Linked DNA regions of Homo sapiens: region 1 is linked to region 2. The links are contacts of gene promoters, found by promoter capture Hi-C in human tissues and cell types (Jung and others, 2019). All regions are on one chromosome and are shown on one strand. The core of a region is centred on a gene start or on the middle of the fragment in contact, and the rest is flanking DNA. Distances in the headings are between cores, read along the strand shown. Region 1 has its middle 170 kb from the start of PRDM13. Region 2 holds the start of COQ3 (coenzyme Q3, methyltransferase).

Evidence for each region. Contacts are between HindIII fragments. The study calls those that stand out against the background at their distance.
Region 1: a contact is called between a fragment that was not itself captured here and the fragment with the promoter of COQ3 in region 2, in 1 of the 25 tissues and cell types used here (lymphoblastoid cells).

Annotation. Positions count from the first base shown.
Region 1 is chr6:99,775,698-99,781,079 of GRCh38, reverse strand. No RefSeq gene overlaps it. Among named protein-coding and RNA genes, the nearest start is that of PRDM13, 170 kb to the right of the region's middle. The HindIII fragment of the contact is 3,860 bases long and covers 1-3,769 here.
Region 2 is chr6:99,392,875-99,398,048 of GRCh38, reverse strand. It overlaps COQ3 (coenzyme Q3, methyltransferase), which reads left to right and starts at 3,854. Exons shown (of 7, transcript NM_017421.4): 1 at 3,854-3,975. The coding sequence starts at 3,870. RefSeq lists an enhancer at 3,959-4,598. The HindIII fragment of the contact is 11,809 bases long and covers 1-5,174 here.

The DNA.
Region 1 (5,382 bases), core at 590-3,089, 390 kb before region 2:
ACCGAACTATATGCTGCCTGCAAGAAACAAACTTCAAATATAAAGACGCAAATAGGTTAAAATAAAACCAGGGAGATTTGGCAAGATGGACAACTAGATGCAGCCGCTACTGAGGTAGAACAGCTGCTACCGAGGGAACAGGACGGCTGGTGCACTCCTAACAGATCTTCAGAGGGAAGGCAGGGAGTGGATAGAGGGAAGACACAGGAGCTGAACTGAAGTGGGAACCCTGCATGGGGCTACCGTGCAATGGGACTCATTCTTGGCCCCCAGTGACTCCAGGGGAATGGGTGACTTGAGCTGGCAAGGAGCAACCCACTCTCACCACAGGCCTCCGGAATCCCGGCATGAGGAGACTCCTTAACTATTACAGACACTTGAGCCAGCAGGGAGAACTGCTCAGAGAAGTGGTAGGGGCAGCATGCCAGCCAATGTAGAGCCCAGAGGGTTTGGTGCAGGAGCTTTGTAGCAGAGCATGACCAGGGACACCCATTCCCCAAGGCTCAACTTGCTCCCATAGGAGACTTTAGCCCCAGAAAAACTGTCCAACCTGAGCTCTGCAGGGCGGTCTTGGCCATCAGATAGGGCCAGTCTGACCTGAGCACCCCTTGGTCTGCTGGGCTCTTCCAAGGGCCCAGCCTGGCCACACCTGCTTGCAGTGCAGCATCTGGTGCCCCGAGGGTCCACATCATAGCTCCTGTGCTGGCATAGAGCTCCAGCTCCAGCCCCTGTGGCCACACATCAGCCTACCCACTCTCTCCCCACACTACAGCTTCCCTGAGTCCACAGCCACCTCTCACATTTCATTGCTGGGCTGTGTGTGCATGGGTGGATTTTGCCTTCCCTGCCCTACCAGTGCACATGTGCATGTCCACCCCACCCTGCCTCTGCTTCCAGTGGGACTGCACCCCACTCCCCCTTGCCTGCTATACCACCATTGCAGCCATAGCCTTGGTGGACACAGAGCCAGCCAGCCCCACCTGCACAAGCGCCCCACCCCAGAGCCAGCACTGCCACCAGTGAAACTAGGCATGAAGAACAGCAAACCCTCCCCTACATTTCTTTAAATGAAAGAAAGAATGCCAAATGCAGCTAGAGAGAAAGGCACATACAGACCTGCCCCTGCCAGGTCCCCACCCCTGTGCTAGCACCACCACCAGTGTAACCACACACACAGTCACCAACAGGCGCCCCCAACCACCCCAGGCCATGCTGCTTCCACTGCTGCTGTGAATGCCTGCACAGGGGCAGACACCCCAGCACCCGCTAGCACCCCACTGCAGCCGACAAGTGTGTGCCCCGCTGCACTGCCACTGCCGCTGCTGCTAACACATGCGAACAAGGATGGATGCTGCTGCCACCACTCTATAAAACACTTTGGCTGCCACCACCCATCAAAATGTAGTGACCAGTAGTCTGAGAGCACCTTCTCCCCCCACCACTGTGGGTTTCTAAGCTCAAGGAACTAGAGAACAAAGTCAAGGACAGATACAAGTCACCCAGAGTTAGAGCATGCAGTTGGGAGCTAAGCCTTGGGCCTCCAAAATCTTACAGATGAAGCCAACAAACTGAACCTACCTTATACTACAATCAAACCTTCAAGGTCATCAAAAAGGATAAAAGGATAAAAACCCATCCAAAGGAAAGCAATTTCAAAGAATGAAGGAATACCAGCCCACAAAGATGAGAAAGGACCAGTGCAAGAACTCTGACAACTCAAAAAGCCAGACTGCCTTCTTTCTTCCAAATGGCCACACTGCCTCTCTAGCAAGGGTTCTGAACTGGGCTGAGATGGCTGAAATGACAGAAATAGAATTCAGTATATGGATAGGAATGAAGATCATTGAGATGCAGGAGTACACTAAAACCCAATTCAAGAAAGGTAAGAATCACAACAAAATGATACGATATCTGACAGACAAAATAACCCATATAGGAAATAATGTAACTAACCTGATAGAGCTGAAAAACACAATACAAGAATTTCATAATGCAATCCCAAGAATTGAAAGCAAAATAGATAAAGCTGAGGAAAGAATCTCAGAGCTTGAAGAGCTGCTTTAAGAAATAAGACAGACAAGAGTAGAGAAAAAAGAACGAAAAGGAATAAACAAACGTACGAGAAATATGGGATTATGTAAAGAGACCACATCTATGACTCATTGGTGCCCCTGAAAGAAATGGGAGAATGGGAGCAACTTGGAAAACATATTTCAGGATATTATCCATAAGAATTTCCCCAACCTAGCTAGAGAGGCCAACATTCAAATTCAGGCAATCCAGAGAACCTCAGGAAGATACTTCACAACAAGATCATCCCCAAGACATATAATCATCAGCTTCTCCAAGGACTAAATGAAAGAAAGAATGCTAAATGCAGCTAGAGGGAGAGGTCAGGTCACCTAAAAAAGGAAGTCCATCACACTAACAGCAGACCTCTCGGTAGAAACCCACAAGCCAGAAGAGATTGGGGACCAATATTCAACATTCTTAAAGCAAAGAAGTTCCAAATTCCAACCCAGAAATTCTATTTTTTTTTTTCAGACAGCATCTCATTCTGTCACCCAGGCTGGAATACAGTGGCACAATCACAGCTCACTGCAGCCTCAACCTCCCAGCCTCAAGTTATTCTCCCACATCAGCCTCCTAAGTAGCTGGGACTACAAATGTGCAGCACCACCGCATTGGCTAGTTTTTCATAATTTTTTGTAGAAATGGGGTTTCTCCATCTTGCCCAGGCTGGTCTCAAACTCCTGGGCTCAAGTGATCTGCCCTCCTCAGCCTCCCAAAACCCAGAATTTCATATCTGGCCAAACTAAGCTTTATAATTGGAGGAGAAATAAGATCCTTTTCAGATATGCAAATACTGAGGGAATTCATTACCACCAGGCCTGCCTTGCAAGAGCTCCTGAAGGAAGCACTAAATATAGAAAGGAAAAACTATTACCAGCCATTACAAAAACACACTGAAGTACACAGACCAATGATGCTATGAAGCAACCACATAAACAAGTCTGCAAAATAACCAGCTAGCATCATGATAACAAGATCAAATTCACACATAACAATATTAACCTTAAATGTCAATGGGCTAAATGCCCCAATGAAAAGACACAGAATGGCAAGCTGTATAATGAGCCAAGACCCATCAGTATGCTGTCTTCAAAAGACCCATCTCAATTGCAAAGACACATATAGGCTCAAAACAAAGGGATGGAGGAAAATTTACCAAGCAAATGGAAAATAGAAAAAAAAGCAGGAGTTGCAATCCTAGTTTCCAAAAAAACAGACTTTAAACCAACAAAGGTTAAAAAAAAAAAAAAAAAAAGGCGGAGGCAGGGGGGGCGTTACATAATGGTTAAGGGTTCCATTCAAAAAGAAGAGCTTGTACTTCTTGCACTCAATACAGGAGCACTCAGATTCATAAAGCAAGTTCTTAGAGACCTACAAAGAGATTTAGACTCTCACACAATAAAAGTGGGAGACTTTAACATCCCAGTGACAGTATTAGACAGATCATCGAGACAGAAATGTCTCAGTGATAAAGTCAAAGATATTCAGGACCTAAACTCAGCTCTGGATCAAGTGGACCTGATAGATATCAGCAGAACCCTCCACCCAAAAACAACAGAATATATATTCTTCTCATTGCCACATTGCACTTACTCTAAAATTGATCATATAATTGGAAGTAAAACACTCCTCAGCAAATGCAAAAGAACTGAAATCATAACAGTCTCTCAGACAGCACAATCAAATTAGAATTCAAGATTAAGAAACACTCAACACTACACAGCTACATGGAAATTAACAACCTGCTCCTGAATGACTCCTGCATAAATAATGAAATTAAGGCAGAAATCAAGAAGTTCTTTGAAACCAATGACAACAAAATGACAACGTACCAGAATCTCTGGGCTGCAGCTAAAGCAGTGTTAAAATGGAAATTTATAGCACTGACTGCCCACATCTAAAAGTTAGAAAGATCTCAAATTGACAACCTAATATCACTACTAAAAGAACTAGAGAGCCAAGAGCAAACAAACCCCAAAGCTAGCAGAAGACAAGAAATAAGCAAGAACAGAGCGGAACTGAAGGAGATAGAGACATGAAAAACCCTTCAAAAAATCAACGAATCCAGGAGGTGGTTTTTTGAAAAAATTAATAAAATAAATAGACCACTAGCTAGACTAATAAAAAAGAGAGAAGAATCAAATTGGCATAATCAAAAATTATAAGGGAGTTATCACCATTGACCCCACAGAAATACAAACAACTATCAGAGAATACTATAAACACCTCTATGCACAAAATAGAAAATCTAGAAGAAGTGGATATGTTCCTGGACACATACACCCTCCCAAGACTGAACCAGGAAGAATTTGAATCTCTGAATAGGCCAATAATGAGTTCTGAAATTGAGGCAGTAATAAATAACCTACCAACCAAAACAAGCTCAGGACCAGACAGATTTACAGCTGAATTCTATCAGAGGTACAAAGAGGGGCTGTTATCATTTCTACTGAAACTATTCCAAACAATTGAAAAGGAGGAACTCTTTCCTAACTCCCTTTATGAGGTCAGCATCATCATGATGCCAAAATGTGGCAGAGGTAAAACAAAAATAGAAAATTTCAGGCCAATATTCCTGATGAATATTGATGTAAAAATCCTCAATAAAATGCTGGCAAACCAAATCCAACAGCACATCAAAAAGCTTATTTGCCATGATCAAGTTGGCTTCATCCCCAGGAAGCAAGGTTGGTTCAACATATGCAAATCAATAAATGTAATTCATCACATAAACAGAACTAAAGACAAAAACCAAACGATTATCTCAATAGATGCAGAAAAAAACCTTTGATAAAATTCAACATCCCTTCATGTTACAAACTCTCAATAAAGTAGCTATTGAAGGAACATACCTCAAAATAATAAGAGCCATATATGACAAAGTCACAGCCAATATCATACTGAATGGGCAGAAGCTGGAAGCATTTCCCTTGAAAATCAGCACAAGGCAAGGATACCCTCTCTCACTGCACCTATTCAACATAGTATTGGAAGTTCTGGCCAGGGCAACCAGGCAAGAGAAAGAAATAAAGAGCATCCAAATAGGAAGAGAGGAAGTCAAACGATCCTTGTTTGCAGATGACATGATCCTATATCTAGAAAACTGCATAGTCTTGGTCCAAAAGCTCTGTAAGCTGATAAACAACCAGTAAAGTTTCAGGACACAAAATCAACATACAAAAATCACTAGAATTTCCATACACTAACAATTGCCAAGCCGAGAGCCAATTCACAAATGCAATCTCACTCACAATTGCCACAAAAAGAATAAAGTACCTAGGAATACATTAATCAGGGAGGTAAAAGATC
Region 2 (5,174 bases), core at 2,605-5,104:
TTAGTGTATATGTTTTCTGCCACTATAAAATTACCTTTTTAGCATCTGTTTCTAGTGGTGTAATACCAAGTAGGTAAATTTCGCAGTCTATTTTTAAGTGTCCTGAGTTTTTTGTTTCCTTAAACACATGAAAGGTAATAGTAAAGAATTTTTTACTGTATTTGGGAATTTTTACATAGGAGTTGTATTAGGTTTCCAGTCTCTGTAGTGTTGCCTTACAGAAATCTTTACATCTAAACTGAGTTTTTCTTCTCCTACATAAATTTAAATGTATTTTGATTTACTGAAGTTTCTAAAATGTACTGAGTACAGACATACACCACATAACGACGTTTCAGTCAATGACGGGCCACATGTACAACAGTGGTCCCATAAGATTATAATGTATTTTTACTGTACCTTTTCTGTGTTTAAATACACAAAACCATGATATTACAGTTGCCTACAGTTTTCAATATAGTATTTGTAGCCTAGGAGCAAAAGGCTATACCATGTAGCCTGGGTGTGTAGTAGTCTATACCATCTAGGTTTATGTAAGTATACTCTGTGATGTTCACATCACAATGAAATCACCTAATGACACATTTCTCACATGTCCCCAAGTTAAGCAACTGCATAGTTGCTGTTTCTTGCTTTTTGAGATGGAGTCTTTCTCTGTTGCCCAGCCTGGAGTGTAGTGGCGCAGTCTCAGCTCACTGCAAACTCTGCCTCCTGGGTTCAAGTGATTCTCTTGCCTCAGCCTCCTGAGTAGCTGGGATTACAGCACCCACCACCACATCTGGCTAATTTTTGTGTTTTTAGTAGAAACGGTTTCACCATGTTGGCCAGCTGGTCTCGAACTCCTGACCTCAGGCGATCCACCCGCCTTGGCCCCCCAAAGTACTGGGATTACAGGCGTGAGCCACCGCTCCCAGCCGATTGCATAAATGGAAGTAGTAGTAGAGTCATTGGATTGAGCTGGCTCTGTTTCTTGATGTGTTTTAGGCAAATCACTAAATCACCATGGGCCTTAACTTCTTCAGCTGTGTAAGGGAGGAATTAGATGAATTTTTTTTTTTTTTTTTTTTGAGATGGAGTCTCGCTCTGTCACCAGGCTGGAGTGCAGTGGTATGATCTTGGCTCTGCAACCTCCGCCTCCCAGGTTCAGACAACTCTCCTGCCTCAGCCACCCAAGTAGCTGGGACTACAGGTGTGCGCCAACATGCCCAGCTAATTTTCGTATTTTTAATAGAGACAGGGTTTCATGTTGGCCAGGATGGTCTTGACCTCGTGATCCGCCTGCCTCGGCCTCCCAACATGCTGGGATTGCAAGTGTATGCCACCGCACCTGGCCAAATTAGATTAGTTCTAAACACATCTAGCTGTTAAGTTTTTCAGTTTTAAGTGGAATTTTGTTGTGTAAAATTTAAAAGAGAAAATGGGCTTTAGCTCTTCAAAAAGCACACATGGGTTATATTTATATCATAAAGGTTTATCAGATACCTATAGAGTTCCTTTAAAGATACCTTGGTTAAATCTGCCACATTCTGATTTTGGTAGAAGTTATGATAGAATTATTCTGAGTTACCAATTTATGTAAAATTTTTAAGTAAATGTGAAAACTTACCAGTTAAACTGAGTGGATGTAGTGGTATATCTCTTTTTTTTTTTTTTTTTTGAGACACAGTCTTGCTCTGTTGCCCAGGCTAGAGTGCAATGGCGTGATCTCAGCTTACTGCAACCTCCACCTCTCTTGTTCAAGCGATTCTCCTGCCTCAACCTCCCAAGTAGCTGGGATTACAGGATTCCATCACCACTCTCAGCTAGTTTTTGTACTTTTTGTAGTAGAGATGGGGTTTCACCATGTTGGCCAGGCTGGTCTTGAACTCCTGACCTCAGGTGATCCGCCCACCTCAGCCTCCCAAGGTGCTGGGATTACAGGTGTCAGCCTCCACGCCCAGCTGTATATCATTTCAAAGCTACAAGGGAGCACTTTACCCTTGGATGAAAAAAAAAATGTTTATAAAGTTGAATTACAAAACAGACATTAAGAGTTTTAGAGCAAAATAAATACGCAGACTTACGGGTGAGACCATAACAATAATAGTCTGGGGAAATATCTCCAACAATGGCCATATACTGCATTACAGCCATTACAACTTTCCAATACCACTTAGGCTTAAGGGTCATTGGGAAAGCCCTTTGTTGATGTTTGTAGCGAGAAATACTATGAGCTAGTTTTGCTTATTTGGGCCAGACCTGTTCTGGGTGTTCAAAAGACATACTTGTCAGCATAAAGCAAATCATTGATTCCCCTTCTTGTTAAAATGTAGTGGAAAGGCTCTGAAGCCCAGTGAAGTGTGGTACCTTCAAAGAAAGTACATATAAAGCTCCTAGAACTTTATTTAATTGTGCTTGCACTTTGCTTTTTCCTTGGATGTGTCACTCCAATAAATACAAGACGTGCTACATTTTCTTTTGTGCAGAGCTTTCTGCCTTCATGTGGAGAGAGGATCATGTATCTAAGGGTAGAGGAGCTCTGAAGAGGACATAGCAACTGAAAAGTGCGACCACCCTTAGGAGGAGGTCAATATTTTAGCTAAGAACCATGAATGAAAGACTATTGCTGTCTGGGTGAGGTGGCTCCCACCTGTAATCCCAGCACTTTGGGAGGCTGAGGCAGGCAGATCACCTGAGGTCAGGAGCTTGAGACCAGCCTGGCCAACATGGTGAAACCCTGACTGAAAATACAAAAATTAAGCCGGGAATGGCAGCATACACCTGTAATCCCAGCTACTTACGAGGCTGAGGCACGAAGAATCACCCGAGCCTGGGGGACGGAGGTTGCAATGAGCTGAGATCCTACCACTGCACTCCAGCCTGAGCAACCGAGTGAGGCTGTCTCAAAAAAAAAAGAAAAAAAAAGATTCCTGAGCGGTAAATTTCGCTAACTGAAAGAACCCTTTACCAATTTGACCCTACCTGTTGAAAATACAGAATAATTTTTTGTCTTCAATGTTGGAGATTCGTCATTGTTCTTACCCAAAGAAAGACTTTGTGCATTTAGACGTAAAATGTTACTGATCACTGTTCCTAGCTCTAAATGAAGTTTGCCTAGACTGAGCCACAGAAGCCTCCTACTACATGATGTATATACCCTGTACAAGATAATAGTCATTTGCAGAAAATAAGTTTTACATTTGGCCTTCTGGCCATCTGATATTTGAGTGCCTTGAAAGGGGAAACAATTCTTCCCTTGAGGAAGAAGTGCTCCCATACTCTTGCATTCTTAGCAGTAGGGTCAATGTCTTACAGGAATATAAAAGTCCTTGAAGAGACATCTGTTAAGTGTGAAATAGAGCTACATGGCAATAAAAGAAGACACAGCACGAAGTAATGGCCTGATTGAGGTCAACTTCGAACATGAGGTTTGAGGTGTCCTATAGCAATAAAGTATCTTCAAAGTTGTTTATGATAGTAAAAACATCTTGCAGTTTAATTCCATGTGCAATTTGCTAAATGAGCGTGAAAGTATAGCCATACATACATAACACTCAACAATACAATCATGAAAGTCGGCTGCAGGCCGGGCGCGGTGGCTCACGCCTGTAATCCCAGCCCTTTGGGAGGCCAAGGCGGGCGGATAACCTGAGGTCAGGAGTTCGAGACCAGCCAACATGGAGAATCGCTTGAACCCGGGCGGCGGAGATTGCAGTGATCCCAGAATCCGAGATGGGGACTGTACTCCAGCCTGGGCAACAGAACAGACTCTGCTAAAAAAAAAAAAAAAAAAAAAAGTCGGCTGCAGACGGCGAAAGTGATCTCGGAACCTTTATGTTGGGGATCTTTTTTCGGGAGGGACCGGAAAAGAGGTGGGATCGTTTGTCGCGATGTGGAGTGGCCGTAAGCTGGGCTCCTCCGGGGGTTGGTTTTTAAGAGTGCTGGGGCCTGGAGGCTGTAATACAAAAGCTGCGCGTCCCTTAATTTCCTCGGCGGGTGAGTGTGTGTGCGGAGGTCCTTCGCATGCAGTCAATTGCGAGCGCTGGCGTCTCTGCGCATGCGCCGGGGGTGGGGCGGTGGGTTGTCTCTGGACCTCGCGAGGGGTCAGCGCGAAACCTAAGGCTTGGTCCTGGCCCCATCTCTCTCCATTGTAAACCTCGCATAGTCCCGTTGGCGGACGCCGGGGAAAAGAGCTCAGGACCAGTGGTCCTGTCTGGAAAAGCGCAGGCCGCGGGTCTCTTGTGGCTGAGCTCCTTGCCCCAGGAGCCGGCGACCCGCTCTGCGTGTGCTGCAGTCTGAAGGTCATGCATCTTTCCTTTGCCGGGGCAGGAATAACTCACGCCTCGTAGTTATGCATAGCTTTGTATCTGTGTTTTGTTTGCACAAAGCTTGCTGTTTTTTTCAGAAAGAATTTAAGGCAGCTGTATTACTTTTTGATTAATAGGTTAATCCAACAGACTGCATTTGCAAATGAGATCAAGAAAATAATGCACTGCTCAGTGCTTGTAGACAGCAGTCTGATTTTCGAACTCTCAGTATTAAGTAGAAACTTAAGCTCATCTTTCACATGGAACTCTTAACAAATACTGTATGCCAGACACTGGTATGAGCACTGGGAATTTAAAAATGAATGACACCGCAAGGATCTCTTTAAAAATGTTAGGATAAACCTAAGATCAGGATATAATGAACAAAAAAATGGGGAATCTAACCGCCCATTAATAAAGGTTATTAGTTGGTACTATCATACAGTGAAAAATAGTACAGCCAATAAAAATGATTTAAATCTATTTGTACCCACATGGAAAAGTAGTAAGATATAGTGTTAAGAAAGTAAAGTTTCATTGTTTCCTGGAAGGAGCCAAAAAAAAAAAAAAGTTACAAATCAGTATGTATAGTGAACTTGGAGTTACAGGTGGAGATATATAGAGAAATTTTGCAGTGATTGCCTGTGGTAGAGTAGGTGATTTTCTATCATTTTATCCTTTATATACTTTTCTTTTTCTGAACTTTTTTTAGTAAACATGTGTCTTTTATAATCAAAAATTTAGAAAAGATATAATAAACCTAGTTCCAATTTTTGAGGGGTGAACATAGAAGGAGCATTTAATCCATATTTGGGATCAAGGAAACTTCTTGAATGGGATATTTAGAGAAATCTTGAAGGAGGTGGCCAGTTTTAGAAGCAGTTGGTC